Regions from separate parts of the Homo sapiens genome. Here region 1 is linked to region 2. The links are contacts of gene promoters, found by promoter capture Hi-C in blood cells and fetal thymus (Javierre and others, 2016). All regions are on one chromosome and are shown on one strand. The core of a region is centred on a gene start or on the middle of the fragment in contact, and the rest is flanking DNA. Distances in the headings are between cores, read along the strand shown.

Region 1 (5,004 bases), core at 935-3,434, 410 kb before region 2:
TCTGACCATGCCACTTCTGCTTAATAAATATTCAGGGGCTTTACTTTGCCTCCAAGATTATTAATAGGCATCAAGGGCCCCTCGAGATGGGTTCCCATTGCTCCCTGCACTACCCAACATTCTCAGACAACATTAAAATGCTGCGCACACCATGCAGGGTTTTATTTTCTTTCTTGCTTTCTGTCTTGCTACTCCTCCTCCTTGAATATTCTCTCATCCTTCCCCTTTGTCTTGGCAAATTCCTGCTCATTTTTTAGGGTTTAGTTTTATCTTCACTCCTCCAGAATATCTCCTCTGATCTCAATGTGTCTGCTGTCTCTTTGTAACCTGGTATAAGTCTCTTTTCGTGTATCATGTTATCATTTAATTTTCTGTTTATGTGTTTGTTCTTTCACAGGTCTATTCATCTAACTCCAGCCGCTGGCAGAGAAGCTAACAAGAATAGAGATCCACCAGTGTTTCTTTTCTTTTCTTTCCTTTTTTTTTTTTTTTTTTTTGAGGTTCTCCATACTCGATTTTTAAAAAATAATTTTTCTCTTTCTTTTTCTTTTTCCTTTTTTTAATTTCAATAGATTTGTGGGAAACAGGTGGTGTTTGGTTACACGAATAAGTTCTTTAGTGGTGAGTTCTGAGATCTTGGAGCACCCATCACTTGAGCGGTGTACACTGTACCACCCTTCTCCCACCCTTTCCCCTGAGTCCCCAAAGTTCACTGTACCATTGTTATGCTTTTGCGTCCTCATTTGCGTTCCCACTTATGAGTGAGAACATACAGTGTTTGGTTTTCCATTCCTGAGTTACTTCACTTAGAATAATGGTCTCTAATTCCATCCAGTTTGGGCCTTTCAGGATTGGTTTCCTCTGCAGTACTTATGAGGGCAGGAAGGTGGCAGCATTTAGCTATCAGTGAGTTCATGCTGACGCTAGGAAGAGAAACAGAAATAACCACTCCTATCTTGGGACATTTTTCCAACTGCCTTGATTGCTTCTCTTTTCCAGCAGAACTGAGAAAATAAGGCCACAGTTGAGAATTTTGTGCTTGATGGAGACATCAAACCCAGAAATGCTGGACTGGCTGAGCAACTTGAGTAAAGCTCATCCTCCCACTTTTGTCATGCAGGCCCTGGGAACTGCTTTAGGAATGAGAAAAATGGACATAAAATGATCTGATCAGTATGTAAATTATTATCTTGCTTACAGTTTCATATACTAAGGGAATTATTGGGGGAGATTGCTTATATCTTCAATGTGACTTCAAGTCTATCTTTTTATACTTTATTTGCATTTATTAGTGTTTAATCCCACAGAATGATCCCATTCTCCTATTTTAAGTGTTCTAATTCCCGCACACAATTCCTCTACCTATAGGTTCTAAATTTATAATTGTAGGTTGAAAGAATGGTTTTGTTCATTCAACCCTAAGCATTCAGTGGTTGCTACATTCTTCATGTTACATTTTCTCAGTTCCTTATGTTGGTTAACGTCTTACTGATTAGGCTGAGAACTAGAATTTCCATCACAGTAGTACTCATGCTGAGTAGTCACTGCTTATTGATTTGTCTGGTGGAAAACCTGAAGGTAGGACCTGTATCAGTCAGGGTCTTAGCAGGGAACCCCTGTTTAATCAAGTTAGGGCTTAATGGGAGATAATTTTCTTTCCAGAGGTACAGGCAGGGTTAATCACTCCAATAAGGGATGTTGAAGTATCCAGGGTTTCGCTACAGTGGGAAGCTATTATTGCCCCTAGGCCTGAAGGTCGATGACAAGGAAGTTACTAGAATCTGGCAAGTGATGGAGTGGAGCTATAGCCAAGGGGCTGCCTGAGAGGAGCAGTGGCCAAATGTGATTGAGAATTGCTGGTGAAATGATTCACCAACCACAGGAAGAGGCTGACCATCATAGACCACATTTCAATGACTTATGTTTCATTAATGAGTCATCATCAATTTCTCTTTCATTTTGATAGCCCCCTCTTAGGATTCAGGTTTTGAGGTAACTCTTCTACTAGACAACATTTTAAAGTAGTAACTATTTTTCTCATTGCTATTAACCAAGCCACACATTAATGCCGAGCTTCTGTTAAGTAAAAAATAACTAGGGATACCAGACTGAGTTTTTCAGCCCAGTCAGAAGAAAAGCAATTTGACATACTGTTACCCTTTGCAGTCTTAGCAAGAGAAAGACAATGCGCTTGTTTATTGTCTAAATTAGCACTTTGCCCCTGATACTCCTCAAAGCTGAAAGACCCTCTAAGATCAAGAACTGATGAAGTAAGTCTTCAGATTTGATAAACTGGTGTTCTATAGGGAAATTAAAGCCAATGTGAAATTTGCAGTTGACTTTTGTGATGACTACCTTCCCCTTTTAAATTCTGAGTGTATTATGCATTTAAATATAAATTGGTCTTTTCAGGGCTATAGAAAAATGTGCTGCTCAAAAGGAGATTTCCATCTCGAAAAGGCAAATTACTGGGAAAAATGAATCTGTTTTCTCTGCCAAGGTAAGCTACTAATTTATGAAACACGCTGGGGACTTGAAGCAGGATATTCGGCACCACACCTTCTGATCACACCCACTCTTTGTTGAGTAGCTGGATTCTGTTTTCTCATTTAACACATGGTTTCTTTCCCTAAAAATGAGAATGAAAAATCTTGCTCTTTGAGAAACAAAGTTGGAACTTTGTGTATTTTTTATGGCATTATTTTGAGTATGAGTTTTGAGGTAACTATTTTCAGATTCCAGGAAGCTATGAGGCCATATCTAGTTTCAGAGTTGCATTGCTGTTACAGGCTCAGCATTAGGTAACATATTTTGTTTTCAGTCTGTTTCAGCTCCAGTATTGACTGGTTTCTCTCTCTTGAACTTTGCATCCACAATTCAGTTTAGGGAGAGTCAAGAACATAAGTGTTTTAATCATTAACCATTAACTTTTAAAGCACCGTTAATCCCGTGTATGATTAGCTCAGCTTTCAGAATCAGAATTCAGAAATATGGTAAAAATCACCAGGACAAACTTCTAACAGTTTTCACAAGTATTCCCAAAGTGATGATCAAAGCCTACAGTAACAGATCTTTTAAAAGAAGGGGCTTCCTTATGGGCTGGGCCCCCCCAACAGGGGTAGTTGATTAAGAAAATCTTACCACTTTCTTACAACTTTATAGAAAATAAGTCATGTTAAAGCACAGGGGTAGTGAAAGGAGTGTTTAAGAAGTGGTCTCAACTGAGGTTTTGGGGTGCCAGTGGAGCTCCTTTGCCTTGGTTCCAGCAGAAGAGTGATGCATGTGAAGCATGTGGTTATGAGTGCCCCAGGTCCTTTTGGGCTTTAGCTGCTTACCACATGGTGAAAAGGAATGGTGATAGAAATCCAAAGTGAACTTTTTAATATTATTATTATGGCTTTATATATAGTCAAAAGAGCTCACCTTCTTCTCCTAGCTCAGACATGGGTTTGGCTAAGGCAGGAGAAATGGGGTTGGGGAGGTTGGGAGCAGGGCATGCAATGCTCTTCTGAAAAAATAGGGACATAAAGGAGATATGCCCGCAACTCTCCATCAGGTTGAAGGATTCTTTCTATTAGCCTTTCAGCATTTGGATCCTTATGATTTTGGTGCTTCTCTGTAGCATTGGAGACATAGAAGGAGACTGCCTCCTGCTGGGGTCAGTATTTTCTGCATCCCATGAACGGAAGTGAGAACAGCCTTGGGAGCTAATGCCGAAGGTGGGAGAATCTGATGCCCTCAGTCTCCAGTGAACTAAAGTAAGAGTCTTACTACTTTCAGTGCTTGGGAACTGCTGCAATACATGGGCTGCTCCAACTTATTTCCTTAAACCTCCACTCACCAGATTTTCAGATGCTGCACAGGTGGAATGGTGGATCAAGTTCTAAATGTCACATGACTGTCTTGTTTAGTTATATGTTGGGTGTAGCCCGTGGAGTACTCAGGCCCTAAAGAAACCCTTTTGGATGAATAAACATCCCAGAGTCCTTATGCTAGTTCTACCTGTGAGGTGTTTGCTACGGTCTGAAAGTTTATGTAACCCCAGCACTCATATGTTAAAATTCTAAAACCCCCAATCCCCTTGATAGTATTTGGAGGCAGAGCCTTTGGAAGGTAATTAGGTCATGGGGGAAAAGGCCTTATGAATGGGGTTAGTGCTCTTATAAAAGAGGCCAGAGGCCAGGTATGAAGGCTCATGCCTGTAATCCCAGCACTTTCACAGGCTGAAAGCTAGGATCGCTTGAGCCCAGGAGTTCAAGACCAGCCTGGGCAACATAGTGAGACCCTGTCTCTACAAATAATTTTAAAATTAGCCCAACATAGTGGTGTGTGCCTGTAATCCTAGCTACTCAGGAGGCTGAAGTGGGAGGATCACATGAGCCCAAGAAGTCAAGGCTGCAGTGAGTAGGAAGGTACCTGCCTTCAAACCAGGAAGAGGGTCCTCACTAGACACCCAAACTGCCAGCACCTTGATCTTGGACTTCCCAGCCTCCAGGGCTGTGAGAAATAAATTCCTGTGATTTGTAAGCCACCCAGTCTATGGTATTTTGTTACAGCAGCCCAAATGGACTGAGGTAGTATTCCTAGTCCCATCTCACATCTTAGACTACAAGTCCTAGAGAATACATGCTGAGAGGAAAAAGCTTTTAGGTGTTTCAGGGCATCTCCTATTACCCCCATTACCCTCTTCTCCCTAAAGTCATGGAGTGAGGGGGTTCAGAATTACCTGAAGCACAGAAATTTATACTAGGAGACCATATAACACCCTTTTGTTGGCTGTCAGGCCCATGAGGTAACCTAGTGCCCAGAGCCCCCTCACTTGAGATCTTGGAGGTTCCCTGTCAAAGGCCTAGAAAAACTAGAGTTGAAGGCTGCCACTGCAGCTCAATGCAATTCCCATTTCACCTTCCAGTAAGAGCTTTCAACACCTCCCTGATCCTCCTAAAATCCTTTCATCGGTGATGGCCCAGAGGATAGTCTCTGCCTGAAGTCTCACCAGCTCAG
Region 2 (4,558 bases), core at 1,026-3,525:
CTGTACAAAAGGTTTTGTTTGATAGGGTTTTTTGTGGGCGTTTGTTTGCAAGGGGAGGAATTACAGTAGAGAAATAAATTAAGAGAGTATGACAACTGATTTGGTGGGAAATTTTAAAAGCTGACCATAGGAGGTGGTAACAGAAATGAAGAAAAAGAGACAGTTGGGACAGCCACTCTGGGAATATTTGAGTGCATGTCTAACAGTGATACCAGAAATATACCTGCAGAATCCAACATGTAAATACCTCCAATCCTAACACACGGAATAAACCCTAGATGTTTTGTTTTCACAAATTTGTCTAGCATTTTTCCACAAACCCCAGTGATTCACCTTCTTTCTACCTGTTTCATGAATGTGGTTTCACACTACCTTTTTAAAATCTTAACAGAAGATTGTAATACATATTAATTCAAAATGCCACCTACTTTTAAAGTTATTCTACTCAGATGGTACAACTGTCAAAAGCAAACACTGTTTCTTAATTTCAGGTCCCACACAGGCCACAACAAGATAGAATTTGGGAATTTTAAAGAATCTAAAGGACGTGTACTAGGTCTAACATGAGTAATGCTCAACATGTTAAACCTAGTACAGGTCCTTTAGATTGTTCGGTAATGCTATTTTTAGATCAAGCAACACTCCTCCACGTGCAAGTTTTTCCAAATTATACTAACAAGGTCAAGGATCATATCCTATCTAAAAACAAGACTGTATAACACAGCTAAGACCTTTTGCAATCGCTTATCTACAAATATTGTGACGTAAAGATTGTATTTATTTATATCTTTACGTTTTTATGTTTTATGTTGGAAAACACTTTTATTATTTGTATTGTGTTCATATATCTGCCTTCATTCTTATTCATATTTTTATTTATGGCAGAGTTAAATCGTACTAGAATCCTTTAAAAAATAAAGGACTTTACATTATAACAGCATTTCACGTTCCTTGGATAATCTGGGTCTCAGAAGAAGCTTGTGAAACTTACAAAGAAAGCTATAATCATCCCCTCTGTACAGTGTAACACTGGAACTCAGAAAGATTAAGTAACTTTACTAATTCAAGATCGCACAATAACTGGCAAGGGCAGGGCCCCAATCAGGCCTTCTCTTTATTCCGGCTCTCCTCCCCACAGGACGCTACCAATTTAATATTTGAATATTCATGTGCCTCTCTTCACTAAACCTGGACTGTAACTAAGAGCCATACTATTGCCGCCCAGCCCTCATCCTGGGTCTCGAAATGCAGCAGCAACACTAGTACTCTTCAGTAAACAGAAACACGAGCACACGCTTCAGTCTGGACCCCATTCAACGCTGGGTTTGCTCTACTGCACAAAACTTAAAATACACTACAGCATTCACGCCTAACCCTCAATGGAACTGTCCTTTTCACTCTGGGAAATTCAGTCACAGGTGACTCATCCCGTTAGCTTACAGTTTTGTAAATTAATAATTTTATATACCGAAAGAAAAGAATGAATTACACAGACCTCTCCCTTCCCCACCCCCAAAGTTGCTTAAGTGTCAAAGCACGGTAGTAAAGCACAAAGAAGTGGGGCTGGAGCTAGCTAGCGTTCCTCCTCTCTGCGACTCCGACGGTCCTCGGGCCACCCATCTCTCAGAGCCCGGCAGGTAGCTTCAGCCCCCCACCCCGCAGGGACCCGACGGACGGCCCGGCGCCTCCAGCGCCCAGACCCGAGCCCCGCCGGTGCTGCGGATGTGGAGGCTCGCGACGCTCGGGCTGCCCTCCTTCCCGGCGCCGCTACCTGCCTCCGGCAGCCCGCACACCTGGCGGCCCCCGCCCCAGCGCGGGGAACCGGCCCCAGAACGCGGAGGTCTAGCGCGGCCACGCGACCCCGCACAGCCCGCTTCCGCCCCAGCCCACATGGCCGCGGCGGGTGGCGCCCCCGCCCCCGCGTGAGCCCAGCGCGGTTCCCGAGGACCCAGGGACCCCAGGAGGCAGGAGGGGGCGGTGGCGACGCGGGTGGGGGGAGGAGGAAACGCGGCCGGGGGGAAGAGGAGGAGCGCGTCCCGACTCGCCGCAAGGGCGGGAGGAGCCAGCAGGGGAGAAGCGAGGAGGGGTCCCGCAGCGGCGGCATATCCGCGGGGCAGCGGGCGCCTACCTGCGAGCAGAAGTACGAGCCCTGGATGCCCAGCTTGATGCAAGTGGGACACTGGAGCTTGGCCTCACTGCTGCAGCCGTCTGTCTCGCACACCCGCGTCTCCACGGCCGCCATGCTGCCTGCCCGCTGGAAGAGCGCCTCACCGAGGAAGAGGCGGCGGCGGGAGGGAGGAACTGCCGGGCGGAGGGGAGGGGAGAGAGACCGAGTCGGGGGAGGAGCTGGGCCCGCCGCTGGCCTGGGCGCGGGAGGGGGAGGAGCCAGGGCCGGCCGGGACCACGCAGCGCGCCCCGCCCCGGCCCCGCCCCCGCCCCGCGCGCGCAGCTGGTGCCCCGCCCCGCCGGCTTCGCCCCGCCCCCCGCCGGCGGTGCCTGCGTGCCCAAGCCTCCCGGCGGCGCGCACATTGGGGCTGTAAGGGAGCTCGGCAGGGCCCCCCCATTCGGCGCCTTCGGGCGTCGGCCAGCAGAGAACGCGACCTGCCGGCGCCTGACGGTGAGGAGCCGCCCTCTCGCGGCGCACTCTCTGTGCCTACAGTCAGATAAGACAGTCGTCTTCACTGACGAACACCCAGGAGCCCTGATCATCCCCGACACCCGCAGGAGGCTAGAGAGGGCGCTGCGCTCCTCTGCGTTGGATTCCCCCGCCGCTCCTTGGAGAACAGTCCCTTGGGTTAAGTTCTGTTTCTCACTGACATTGTCGGGTCTGAGGCCTAAGGACCACCGCTCATTCACAGAAAGGAGAGCCATAGAGCTGTCAACGGGACGGTGGGCTGGGATTCACATCTGCCCTCCCTCCTGCCAGACTTTTTTTTTCCACACACCACCACCTCCCCTTCAAAACCGATAGTGCTAGTAATAGTAACACAACTGTCAGGTATTCAATACAAATAATTTTTTTGTATAATCCCAGTTGATTGCTTCAGCAGTAAATAGGGGAGAATTGTGCTGATCCTGAAATGTCAGAGTCGAAAGAAGCTGTAAAGGCCTTCCCCTGCGAACCTGTTGCTTCAATCTTTTCAGCTGTATTCCAGGTCGGTTGTGTTGTAACTCATGCTTGAGTGCCTCCTTGTCACTAGGGAAGAGCGAAAAACTAACATTTACTGATCACAAAAGGCTGTGAACTTTGTTATTGTATTTTTTTAACTTCTCCGTACTTAATACACCAGAAAAGCTCATACTACTTTTATTTTTAAGAACTTTGTTTTGGCTAGGAGCGGTGGCTGACGCCTGTAATCAATCCCAGCACTTTGAGAGGCCAGGGCATCCAGGGCACCAAGGCCAGCGGATTCTTTGAGGCCAGGAGTTCGAGACCAGGGTGGAAATATGGCAAAACCCCGTCTCTACAAAAACTAAAACTAAAAACTAAAAAATTAGCCGGGCATGGTGGCAGGCGCCTGTAGTCCCAGCTACTGAGGAGGCTGAGCTGGGAGGATCTGTTGAACCTGAGAAGTCAAGGATATGGTAAGCTATGATCCTGCCACTGCACTCCAGCCCAAACGGCAGAGCAAGACCATGTCTCAAAAAAAAAAAAACTTAGTTTTGCAATATAAGCAGTAAAAATGATGTAATAAAATCAAGTAATAGAAATGTTTACATGCATACATACATATACTTTTGTATACAAGAAAAAAATCAATAAGTATGTATGTATGTATAAAATATTTTTTAAATAAAAACTGCACCATACCATATAAAGTAATTTACTTACCTGATTTCTTCAGTTACTATGATGTCAACTTTTTGTTTGTCGTTTGGTTTTTCTTTGAGACAGCATCTCATCCTGTCAACCAGGCTGGAGTGCAGTGGTGCTCACAGTGAGAGGTGACAGCGAGGTGACAGCATGCTGGCAGCCCTCGCAGCCCTTGCTTGCTCTCGGTGCCTCCTGGCCTCAGCTCCCATTCTGGCCGTGCTTGAGGAGCCCTTCAGCCGCCGCTGCACCGTGGGAGCCCTTCTCTGGGCTGGCCGAGGCCAGAGACGGTTCCCTCAGCTTGTGGTAGGTGTGGTGGCAGAGGCACGGGTGGCAACTGCGGCTGCGTGCGTCGCTTGCGGGCCAGCTAGAGTTCCAGGTGGGCGTGGGCTTGGCGGCCCGCACTCAGAGCGGCCGGCCGGCCCCGCCGGCCTCGGGCAGTGAGGGGCTTAGCACCTGGGCCAGCAGCTGCGGAGGGTGCGCCGGGTCCCCCAGCAGTGCCGGCCCACCAGTGCTGTGCTGGATTTCTTGCCGGGGCTTACCTGCCTCCCCACGGGGCAGGGCTCAGGACCTGCAGCCCGCCATGCCTGAGCCTCCCCCGGCCCCACCGTGGGCTCCTGCCCACGTGGCCCAAGCCTCCCCACGAGGGCCACCCCCTGCTCCAGGGCACCCGGTCCCATGGACCACCCAAGGGCTCAGGAGTGTGGGCTTACAGCTCGGGACTGGCAGACAGCTCCACCTGCGGCC

Evidence for each region. Contacts are between HindIII fragments. The CHiCAGO score rates a contact against its expected background, and 5 or more counts as called.
Region 1: a fragment that was not itself captured here is called in contact with the fragment with the promoter of METAP1 in region 2 in 2 of 17 cell types (fetal thymus and total CD4 T cells); the score reaches 7.0 in fetal thymus.

The regions. Positions count from the first base shown.
Region 1 is chr4:99,401,587-99,406,590 of GRCh38, reverse strand. LOC102723576 (a long non-coding RNA gene) reads left to right here and starts at 1,211. Exons shown (of 5, transcript XR_939020.3): 1 at 1,211-2,270; 2 at 2,413-2,500; 3 at 3,623-3,758. RefSeq lists a silencer at 785-1,079, enhancers at 1,631-1,820, 2,794-2,938, 2,706-2,980, 1-3,597 and cis regulatory regions at 2,859-2,872, 2,917-2,928. The HindIII fragment of the contact is 4,923 bases long and covers 1-4,645 here.
Region 2 is chr4:98,993,438-98,997,995 of GRCh38, reverse strand. It overlaps METAP1 (methionyl aminopeptidase 1), which reads right to left and starts at 2,275. Exons shown (of 11, transcript NM_015143.3): 1 at 2,129-2,275. The coding sequence starts at 2,242. It overlaps MIR3684 (microRNA 3684), which reads right to left and starts at 609; the gene lies at 536-609. RefSeq lists enhancers at 1,080-1,862, 2,784-2,833 and silencers at 1,604-2,063, 2,224-2,543. The HindIII fragment of the contact is 4,143 bases long and covers 980-4,558 here.